Linked DNA regions of Homo sapiens: all the other regions are linked to region 2. The links are contacts of gene promoters, found by promoter capture Hi-C in human tissues and cell types (Jung and others, 2019). All regions are on one chromosome and are shown on one strand. The core of a region is centred on a gene start or on the middle of the fragment in contact, and the rest is flanking DNA. Distances in the headings are between cores, read along the strand shown. Region 1 holds the start of BCL3 (BCL3 transcription coactivator). Region 2 overlaps PPP1R37 (protein phosphatase 1 regulatory subunit 37). Region 3 holds the start of FOSB (FosB proto-oncogene, AP-1 transcription factor subunit).

Region 1 (3,749 bases), core at 790-3,289, 350 kb after region 2:
CAGTGGCACGATCTTGCCCCACTGCAACCTCTGCCTCCCAGGTTCAAGCGATTCTCCTGCCTCAACCTCCCAGGTAGCTGGGATTACAGATGCTGACCACCACGCATGGGTAATTTTAGATCAAACTGTTTAAAAAGGGGCCACGGCAGGCCGGGCGCTGTGGCTCATGCCTCTAATACCAATACTTTGGGAGGCCGAGGCGGGCGGATCACCTGAGGTCAGGAGTTCAATACCAGTCTGGGCAACATGGTGAAACCCTGTCTCTACTAAAAATACAAAAATTAGCCAGGTGTGGTGGTGCATGCCTGTAATCCCAGCTACTCGGGAGGCTGAGGCACAAGAATCCCCTGAACTTGGGAGGCGGAGGTTGCAGTGAGCCGAGATCACGCCAATGCACTCCAGCCTGGGCGACAGAGCAAAACAAAACTCTGTCTCAAAAAACAAAAACAAAAACAAACAAAGGCGAGGGGACCATGGCAGCAGGCAAATCCATACCAACCCATCACACAGACGGGGAAAACTGAGGCCTGCTTTCTCACTCTTGGAATAGGAAAGCTGGGAGGCCGTGGCAGAACTCCTGATGCACATAGCTTGAGGCTCTCCAGCTGTCACGCTGATGGGGTGGAGGGTGCAGAAACTACCTAAAGTTTTGGGGCTCTGTAGAACGGCTCTCTGCAGCTTTGGGGGTCAATTGGGGATGGTGACGTGGCCACAGCTGTGGTAGAGGACACCCCTTCTTGAGATCAGGGATGGAGATAGGATGGAGAGAAGAGTGTGTGGTCTTCGTCATCTGCTGATCCTTGTGGGCCCTCTGTTCTTGAACTCCCAAGTTTCCAGGTCCTCGTATCTCCAATACCAGGCCTTGAGGCCTTGAGGCTTTCTGTCTGGAGACCCCTGAAATTTTCATCCTGCCTCTAAATTACCCAAAGTCTCAGAATTACCCAATCTTAGGATCCTCAGTCCCCTGATCCCTTCTGCCCACCTGATCTTGACCTCAAATAGGACCCTGATCACTTGTGGCCCCACATAACTGAGTACCCAGAAACCCGGGTCTCTGTTCTCCTGGGTCCTCAAGACCCCCTGGTATCTGGGTCCCTGGAGCTCTGGTTCATTTCCTTGGATCCTTGTGATCCCAGATATTGGGGTGCTCAGAACCCCATCTCTGTTTTCATAATGCCCATGTCTCCAGATATCTTGGTTCCTGAGATTGTGACATCCTGAGATCCTCAGTATCTGTCTCCTTAGAACCCCAGTCTCTGTTACCCTGACTCCCTTTGATTCTAATAATATCAGGATACAGGGAACCCCAGTTTCTCCAGCCCAGCTCAGCTTCCTCATAACGCTACACATCTGGCTTAAGAGCTTGTACTTTCTTGCCCCTAGGATACCAGGCTCTGTGCCCTGATTCCCTGACACCCCCATATTTGTACCACTGGGCATTGTCCCTGGCCCCCCCCCCCCCACGTCACTCAGCCCCTGGGCTTTGCCCCCCAGGGTCCCCAAATCCCCAGATCCCAAGGCACAGCTTACTGGCTCCCCGATGATCTCATATCTATATCCTTGGAACCTGGGCTTATATCCTCTTGTCCCCCAGGTCCCTGGAGAGACACCGGTTTGTGCCTCAAGCTCTGCCTCCTGGCTCTGGTGACCCTATGCTCTGTGTGGATCCCACCCGGCCCGGACCCTCGGGGGCCACTCACCGGGGTAGTAAAGCGCCTCCGGCCGGGCCAGGCCGTGGGGGGGCCCGGGGACCGCCGGCAGGTCGCAGCCGCCGCGCAGAGGGTCCAGGGGGACGACAAGGCCCGCAGCGCCGCGGGGAGCGGCGGGCTCCGGGGAGGGCGCGCGCAGCGGGCGCTTGCGGAGCGGCAGCGCGGCGCCCGGGAGTCCGGCGGCCTTGGGCCGGGTGCGCAGGTCCACGGGCCCCTCGTCCATGGCCCCCGCGGGGCATCGGGGCATGGGGCCGCCGGGGACGGCGGCCGGAGAGCGGCTGGGCTCGGCTGCACGGGAGGGTGGTTTCGCCGGGCGCCGGGACTTCCCCTGCAGCCGGCTGAACTGAAGGGACTTTTGTCGGCCGGGGCGGTGCCGGCCGCCCGCCTCCCCGCCCCCGGCCCCCCCGGGGCCACCCGTACGCCCCAGGGGTTTCCTGGACCCGCCGCTGCTCCCGCCGCTCTGAGGTGCAGCCTGCCCTGCGCCCCGCCCGCGCCGCGCCCCGCTTGCCCCCTCCCGGCCCGCGGCGCCTGGGGCAGCCAGGCCTCGGCGGGGGAGGGAGAGGAAAGGAGGGGTGGGGGGAGAGGAGGCGGGGTCGGGGGGTGGGGGGGTGTCCCCACCCCTGCTGCCAAGGGCCGCTCTCTCTGCCTCTGTTTTTGTCTTTCTGGCCCTATCTCTCAACATCTCTATCTCTGAGTCTGTAACTGTCTCTCTGGTTCTCCTGTCTGAGTAGGTGTTTCTCTCCGCAACCCCGCGTTTGTCTCTGTGTGCTCTGTTCCGTCTCTGTCTCTCTCTTTTGTCTCTTTGTGTCTGTCACCATCTCTCTGCCTCTCAGTTGCTGTCTGCTTCTCTGTCTCTCAGGAGGCCTTGGCATCTCTGGGACGGGGTTTGGAATCTCGGTTCCCACTTACTCGCTGGGTGACCTTGGCCAAACACTTCCCCTCTCTGAGCCGTTTCCTCCTTAGTGGGAGTGAAGAGACGCACCCGGGGCAGGGACTGGCACTCGGCAGGCGGCCAGGAACGATTCCTCTCCCTCCCCTCTTCCATCTCTGCCACTCCACGTGCCTCATCAGCTGTGGGTCTAAAGGGGCTGGGGGTGGGGTGAGGGTGGGGAGCGCTCCACTGATTGTGTCTCTGCACTCGTTGGGGGCCCTGCCCCCAGCCGGGGCCCGCGGGGCACCGGGGTGGGTGCTCGGAAAATCCTAGGTGCACAGAGAGAAAGAGACATGGAGACAGGCGCAGAGATCTTGAGAGAAAGAGAGATAGCAAGAGACACGGACACCAGGCCAGAGTCAGCGCGACCGAGGCCGGTGCTGCAGGAGCGGGGAGCAGTTTGGCTTCCCCCCGACTTCCCCTCCCACCTCGAGGAGGGGTTGATGGGTGGGGAACAGGCTAGGCGGGTTGGGGGCATGACTCAGGCTGGAGATGGGAGGGAGGGAGGAGGGAGGCGGGACTCTTCCCCGTCTCCTCCCCTCCTCTCCCTCTCCCCGCCCCGGGGTGGGGCCCCGAAGGTCCGGGGCTTTCCCGGATTTCCCTGGGGGCGGGGCAGCCGCTGGGGTTGAGTCCGGGTCACTGAGTCACAGGAGGCGGAGAGGGAGGCTTTGGGGACACAGGGGGCGGGGCATGGGGGCTGCACCCCGGACTTGCCCAGGGGGCACGCGGCGTCTCTCTGGTTCTCTCCCCCGGTCTCCTTCTGTCTTCGAAACTTGCCTGACCTCCCTCTGGTTGTCTCCTGCCCCGCCCTCTGTCTCTGTCTCCCCATCTCTGTTGCTGTCTCTGTGTCCCCTGGGACCTTGAAAGTGGGTATTGGGGCCCCGGGAAGGGACTTTGGCCGGACTCGGGCCCCACCCGAGTGGATCGTTAACCCAGGATGTGAGAAGTGGCTGTGTGGAGAGGCCTCACCCCTTCCCTTCCTTTCGACCTCTCTCTGGATCTCCCTTATCCCCCTTCATGGCGAAACATCCCGAGCACAGACCTGTGTTAATTCCACCTCCACCCCTTGCTCCCGGTGGGACCTCAGACAAGCCATCCCCTGCCTTGAG
Region 2 (3,339 bases), core at 733-3,232:
ATTAGGAGGGCCAGGAAGGAAGGGTTTGCTGGCACCTGAAAGATTAGTGAGAGCCACCTGTGTGCGTAGGTGGGGCCGGTCTTCCAGGACAGGATGTGGGGAGCTGCCTGCGTGTTCTAGGACTGAAAGGAAGCCACGATGGCTTGAACCCAGCAAGAGCATGGCAAGGTGATCTCGGTCGTGGCCGGCGATGGTGGCAAGAGCCAGGTTATACCTGGGCTTCCTAACCTGTTGCAGGGACACTAGATCAGAGGGAAAGGCAGCAGGGAGGTCACAAGTGTGATGTGAAACAGGAATAGCAAAGTCTGCTTTTTCAAGAATGCTGTGGCTGCTAGGTGGGGAGCGGGTTGGAGAGGGAGCAGGAGAGCCATTGGGAGGCCCCTCCACCTGGCATGGCAGGGACAGCAAAGTGGAGGCAAAACAGGCGCTGGTTGGCAAGGAATGAAGGAATGAATGCAGGAAAAAAGGACTCAGTGAACGAAATCTTCCTTCCCCACACCCCATGCTCCCTGACTGTCCTGAGCCCCAGTGCCTGGGTTACAAAGGCTTTGCGGCACCCGGCCTGGGTGCTCATAAGCAACCCCACTTTGCCCGGAGTCCTTAAGGTTCCTGGAGGCGTTCAGTGGTTCCACCCCTCCCAGGAGCCAGATGGACAGGATGCAGCCCTCTGCAGCACTGGTCCAGGGAGGGGAGATGGGCCCGAACAAATAACAACAGAGCGAGGAGGCGCCATGGGAACCCAGACGAGCGGAGCAGAGCTTTGTCCGGGGATTAGAGAAGGCCTTGCCCAGAAGGCAGCACGGGAGGGGGAGTTGGTCAGGAAGGGCAGGGGACTATCGAGGGGTGTGCTGGGCAAAGGCGCCTGCGTCTAGGCGTGGGAGGGGTAACGGGAATTGGTCAGGAAGGGCAGGGGACTAGCGAGGGGCGTGCTAGGCAGAGGCGCCTGTGTCTAGGAGGCTGGGCGTTCTGTGGGAAAGGCCTCCCACACCAGGCCCACGGGTGTGGACTTTGTCCTGTAGTTACAGTGGAGCCCTGGGGGCTTTCTGAAACAGGACAGAGGATCAGAACCATTCAAGCTGCCGGGCTATAACTCAGCTCCTCCTCTACTACCTGTGTGGCCTTGGCACCTCTGTGAGCCTGTTTCCTCCTCCAAGATTAACGATGCATGTAAAGAGCTTAGCCCTGTTAAGCGCTCCATAAATGGGAGCTTTGAGTACCATCACCTCCATCACCACCACCAGGAGGCATGACCCCTGCAGAGAGTCACTTCCCTGCGGCTCGCTTTCACCTTTTGGCAGCCCCACTCTCCCACCCTCCCTCCCTGTTGTCCTGGGGAACCAAGCGAGTTCAGCTGTGACAGTGCTTTGCTTTGCAAAAGGGAAGACTGCACAGGACGCGAGCAGTTCTCCACTACATCGCTGACAGCAGCTGGTGAGAGCCTCGGAGACCGTGGAGAGAGGGAGGGGTGGGTGTGAAGGTGGCACACGAGTCCGACCCCGGCGGGTCCCAAGCGCCAGCTTGCTAGAGGAGCCCGCCCACCTAACCAGGGAACACATTCCCAGCTGGAACCCAACCAGCCCTGAGGGGAGCATCCGACTGCAGGGCTCCCGACCCAGGCTTCCGCTGCGAAGTGAGATGGGCGCTGGGCAAGTCACATGAGCTGTGCGGATGTCAGCAGACACTTCCAAACCTCCACCCCCACCTTGAGGCAACCGCTCAGTACCAGCTGCCTAGAGGAAGGGAAGGGGTGAGAACAACTTCTGAGTGCCTACTGTGTACCTCCATCCACCACCAATTCATCCAGTGTGAGACCCTGCGGAGGGCCAGGCACCATGGAGGGTGCTGGGGACACAGGTGAGCCAAGACAAAGATGGGTCCTGCCTTCATGGACCTTCCTACTTAATGTACGAAACATAGCCAAGCATGACGGATCTCTCGAATTCCTTTTGGCACCCAGCCTCTGAACCACCTTCTTGCAATTAGGGAAGCCCCTCCACATCTCCCACCTCCTCTTAGCTGAAACAGCAGACCCCAGCCTCCTGTGTGGCTCCAGCCCAGGAGCCTGACGTGGGCTCAGCCCTGGAGGTGCTGTGGCGGCTATGTAACAGGAGCGGCATCAGCTCCACACTTGATGCAGGGTGTGCTCCTGCTGGCGTGGGCCCCAGGCCTGGCTCTCTGGTCTTCCCAGAGAGTCTAAAAACTTTGAGAGAGTCCTCATCTGGCAAAATGGCTTCACAAATGGGGAAAGTGGTCCAGGGAGGTCAAGGGACTTGCCCAAGGCCACACAGCCCAAGTGTGGAGGAGCCGAAATCACACTCAGGCAGATGATCCTACCCGCTGGTCATCTAGCCCCACCTGCCTAACCCTTACAGCCGGGGGAGGCAGGAACCAGTCAAGTTCAAGGCAGTGACCACCTCACTCAACTTTCCCATGTCCTCATGAGCGCCTGCAACAGCCAGCTACTGTTCCAGCTGCTTTCCAAGTAGAGGCTAATTTAATCCTCAATCCCCATACAAATGGGGACACTGAGGCAAAGAAGCTGGGTGATTTGCCCAAGGGCAGAGCTGGGACTGGCACCCAGGGGGCTCCCGTGCTGCCTCTCAGGTTACTGCCATTTCACAAACATGGAACGAGGCCCGCTGCGGGCTCCAGAGTCTCCTCCTGGAACCCTTGGGCCAGACGTGTTTTAGAATCAGAATTTTCTGGATTTTATAAGACTGATCAGACACCGATATTGCGCTAAGCCACCAGAGGGGTTTGGGATGGTCTGTAGAGTTTTCTGGATCTGGGTACTGTGAGACCTGAAGGGACTGTGGAGGTGAAGTCACTGGAGAGGTCACCGGACTTCACAGCCCACACGCCTCCCACAGCCCATGCAGGGGCAGGATGTCCCAAGCAGGCCAAGGACACGCTGGCTGGGGGAGCACGAGGGAAGGGACTCAGATCCAAGGAGAGAAGGGAAGGGGAATAACAGTCACCTCAGAGGTGCTATGGGAAACAGTGGCATCGGCAAACCTGCTGGTGGAGGGGAGGACTCAGAGGAATCTGATGAAGAAGTCAATGAAGTCAAGTGTCAGCTATCAGCCAATATGAGGCTACGCCAAGCCTACAGCCTCCGGGCTCCTGGCTCACGGCCCCTCCCTGGCCTCCCTGTCTCAGTCTCACCCTATTCATGTCACCTCCACACAGGATTCTGTTAAAAACACCCACCATGCCCCTCCTTTTTCTTTTGAGACAGGGTCTCACTCTGTCACATAGGCTGGAGGGCAGTGGTGTGATCACAGCTCACTAAAGCCTCGACCTCCTGGACTCAAGTGATCCTTCCACCTCAGCCTCCTG
Region 3 (3,677 bases), core at 674-3,173, 370 kb before region 2:
TAAATGGACTCCTGGAACTGCTCTGAAGGCTTAACTACTCTCTCGGGGGGCGTGGTGAGGGAAGGGCTGGCTCGCCGACCAATCAGAGTCCTGGGAACCCAGAGGGGGCGGAGCTCCTGGAGACCACCTGGCTGGTTGCCCTTCGGTTCGCGGTTCTAGTCCTGTCTTGGGACACACCGGAGGAACCGGGCATGAGGAGCAGAGGGAGTGGGAATGTGTCTGTGTGTGCCTGGAGAAGAGGGTGACAGCCACCGTATCTCTCCAAGAAACGCCAGCACACAAGCAGACACCCCCTTCTCCTGAGAGCCCAGGGACTAGATCCCCGCAAGGGCCTCGCAGATCCATTGGGTCGCAGACAGGCGCTCTTGTCACGACAGGGATCCCCTCCCTCTGCCTCTAGAGGCGCCGAAAAGAGACCCAGCCGCCAAGGAACCACGGGTTCCGGGGACAGAGAGGGGGGAAGGAAAATGCACCCTACAAATAGGAAGGGAAAGCTGATTGGCCAAGGCGTGCGCCCCGGCGGCCAATCGAAACGCCGGGCTGCCCCCTCCCTTAGCAACGTGGCCCCGGCGTTCCAAAATAGAACGCTCCCGGGACGTCAGGGGCGGGGCGGACGAAGGGGGCGCCGCGCGCCGTGCGTGCCCCGCGTCAGACGGAGGATTCCAGCGCGTCAGCCGTTACGCACGGGTCCCCCGTTACGTCTCCGCGCAGGAGGCGGAGGCAGCGCGGCTGAGGGTTCGAGGCCCCTCTTCCCGATGGGTGGAGGGCGACCCGGCACCGAAGTGGGCGCTCCGAAGGAGGAGGAAAGGAAAAGAGACTGCTGGAAGCTTCCCCGGGATTTCCCCCACCTGCCTAACTGCGCTAGCTTCAGGTCTGGGACCCGAGCAGGGGGCAGTCCCGGGGCCGGCTCAAAGTTCTCAGCCCCGCTACCGCATACACGTTGCATTGAGCAGCGCATTACCCACCCCACCCCCACCTCGCCCCAAAGCCTACCCTCCCTGCCGCGTTCCCTCCTTGCGCTCCACGCACGCAACCAATTGCAAACATCTCCCGACTCTTTGCAGTTTGCAAAGTGCGCTGTGAGCCTTTTCCATCTCAGATCTAGGGTTCTGATGCGCCTTTTTGTGGGGGTTGGGGTTTATTCTTTTCACCCTTGACTTAAAAAATAAAACCTACAAAGCAGCACCCCTACTATCAAAAACTTACCTGGGAGGCGGCGGCGGTGGGTGGACTGCCGAAGGAGTCCACCGAAGACAGATATTGAGACTCGGCAGAGGGTGAGGAGCTGCACCGGGAGCCGGAGTCGTAGTCTCCGGGGAAAGCCTGAAACATTTCCCTGGGCACAGGGGGGCCCCTGTGACCACGCTGAGGTCGCCGGGAAGCCAAGGCTATGGCCGGGTTGGGGAAGTAAGGTGCAAGTCCGGGGTGAGCCGTGGGAGTCCCCGGTGAGCTGAGCGAGTCCTCAAAGTACGCTGTCCGGGGAAGCTCGGGGAAGGAGCAACGTCCCGTTCCAACAATGGCAAAGTTTCTGTGCAGTCTTCCTGCGGTGCCCAGGCCCCCACAGGATGCCGCTGTACCTCTTGAAAGTGCAGGCTCCGTAGGACCCAGGGGCGAGGGAGGGGTTGCTCCCCCAGGGGCAGAAAGCGCTGTCCCGCTGTACAGAATCAGCTTCAGCTACGGTCTCCTCCACGCGTCCGGCGGGTCCCACGGGGGGAGGGGAGTAATAAAGAAGACCAAAAAAAGTAAGTCGGTCCTCCAAAAGAAAATGAAGAAATATCTGGAAGAATCTTTCCAAAAACTTTCTCCCCGGAAAAAAAAAGATTAATGAAATTTCATAACCCCCAAGAAGAACCACAACAATCAAGTTTCCAAGTCTTGGTTCCGCGTGTCCCTGCCGTGGCCGTAGCTCTGAGTCTTATGAATGAAGCACAGACCCGCCAGCCTGTATTTATATGCCCGGGACCCGCCCCCCTGCTTACGTCACCCGCCCCTTGCTGGACAAACTTCCCCAAATCTCCGGCCCCGCCAAATCGAGTCCCGCACTGTCCAGCAAGAGGTCTGTTCTAGACTCGATCTGGTCACTTGCATGACCCTCGGGGCCCTGGGGGTCTCGGGGGTTGCGTTCCGGGCCACTCGGCGGGAGGGGATCCCGGCCCCGCCTTCCCGGAGTTCCTGTGACGCAATTAGCCATATAAGGAGCTCGGCCGGCGCGGCGGAGTGTTTGTTTGGTATCCTAGCAATGACGTCAGAGGGAATCCCTCGCTCGCTCGCGCGCGCGCCCGCGCCCCGCCCGCGCCTGCGCAGTGCAACGCCGCCCCGGGGGCTGGTAATAATAGGCGCTTAGACTAGCCCCGCAGGGACCCCGCTGACCCGGGCGGGGAAGACCCCAGCCTGCAGGTCCCCTTCACCTCTGGCGCCCCCACCTACCCTGTTCTACCGATGGTGCAGCGCCCCCATTCGAGAAGAAGAGCAGATCTCCAAAAGGAGACCCTGATTAGTGTGGTGTGGTCACGTAGGTGGGGAAACTGAGTCCCGAGCGGGCTGTGATGCTCAGGTGAAAGTGGAGGTAATGGAGGGATTCCGAGGCTCGTCCTGGTTTCTGTCCTGATTCGCTGTGCGAGCTTAGGAAATGTTTTCCCTCTCTGAGCTTTAGCTTTAATCTTCCCCGCTGGGCAAAGGATGTGTGTCTTGGACCCTGCTGGCCTTACAGGTCCGGCGTTTGGGAGGGATGCGGATTTGGAGGAGATGGGAAATGAAACTTAGAGAGAAGCCTCTCTTCTGATGGTGTTGGTAGCCTCTCCTTCCACCTTTTAATCCACCCGGAGACAAAGAATGTGTAAGAGGGAGGGGATATTATTATTAATTCTAATAATAATAATTAATGCCTTGTATTTGGCACTTGCCAAGCACAGCTCCTGTGCTACGCCTTTCAGTAGAAGATTTGTAATCCTTAAAACAGCTCTGGAAGGTTAAGAGAGAAAAATCTTCATTTTATAAAAGAAAAAAATGATACTCAGGGAGGTTAAATGACTTGCCCAAGATCCCATCACAAGAAATTCAAACTCAGAATTGTCAAACTCCAGATTTCCTACCCTTTCCATTTCTTTTCTGATTTCTGAGACCTGCCTGGTTGGATGAAACTCCCTGAAAAACCTGTGTCTGGGGTTTTTTTAAATGATAATGGCAATATTAGTAGCTTTCACTTGTCAGGTCTTTTTTTTTTTTTTTTTTTTTTTTTTTTTGAGACGGAGTCTTGCTCTGCCGCCAGGCTGGAGTGCAGTGGCGATCTCGGCTCACTGCAACCTCCGCCTCACCTTAGCCTCTCGAGTTGCTGGACTACAGGCGCGGGCCACCACGTCAAGCTAATTTTTATATGTTTAGTACAGACGGGGTTTCACCATATTGGTCAGGATGGTCTTGAACTCCTGACCTGGTGATCCGCCTGCCTCGGCCTCCCGAAGTGTCGAGATTACAGGCGTGAGCCACAGCGCCTGGCCTGTCAGGTCTTTCTAAGCTTTACAATCTCCTTCTTACTGCTCTTAGCATGTACTGTTGCAATCTTGGCTCACAGGGGTACAGGTGACTACCTGAGCAAATCTTCTTAGCAAATGGGGTTCATGAATCTGACGTTTTTTTTTTTTTTTTTTGACAGAGTCTCACTCTGTTGCCCAGGCTGG

The links. The method cuts DNA at HindIII sites, captures the fragments that hold promoters and counts their contacts. A contact is called where the count stands out against the background at its distance.
Region 1: the fragment with the promoter of BCL3 here is called in contact with a fragment that was not itself captured in region 2 in 1 of the 25 tissues and cell types used here (dorsolateral prefrontal cortex).
Region 3: a contact is called between the fragment with the promoter of FOSB here and a fragment that was not itself captured in region 2, in 2 of the 25 tissues and cell types used here (dorsolateral prefrontal cortex and lymphoblastoid cells).

What each region holds. Positions count from the first base shown.
Region 1 is chr19:44,746,998-44,750,746 of GRCh38, reverse strand. BCL3 (BCL3 transcription coactivator) reads right to left here and starts at 2,039. Exons shown (of 9, transcript NM_005178.5): 1 at 1,701-2,039. The coding sequence starts at 1,956. RefSeq lists silencers at 1,801-2,390, 2,801-2,930, 2,991-3,470. The HindIII fragment of the contact is 56,727 bases long and covers 1-3,749 here.
Region 2 is chr19:45,101,610-45,104,948 of GRCh38, reverse strand. The region is part of intron 1 of PPP1R37 (protein phosphatase 1 regulatory subunit 37); the gene reads right to left. Among named protein-coding and RNA genes, the nearest start is that of PPP1R37, 10 kb to the right of the region's middle. The HindIII fragment of the contact is 9,683 bases long and covers 1-3,339 here.
Region 3 is chr19:45,466,242-45,469,918 of GRCh38, reverse strand. FOSB (FosB proto-oncogene, AP-1 transcription factor subunit) reads right to left here and starts at 1,923. Exons shown (of 4, transcript NM_006732.3): 1 at 1,207-1,923. The coding sequence starts at 1,332. RefSeq lists an enhancer at 921-1,822 and a silencer at 2,007-2,286. The HindIII fragment of the contact is 8,650 bases long and covers 1-3,677 here.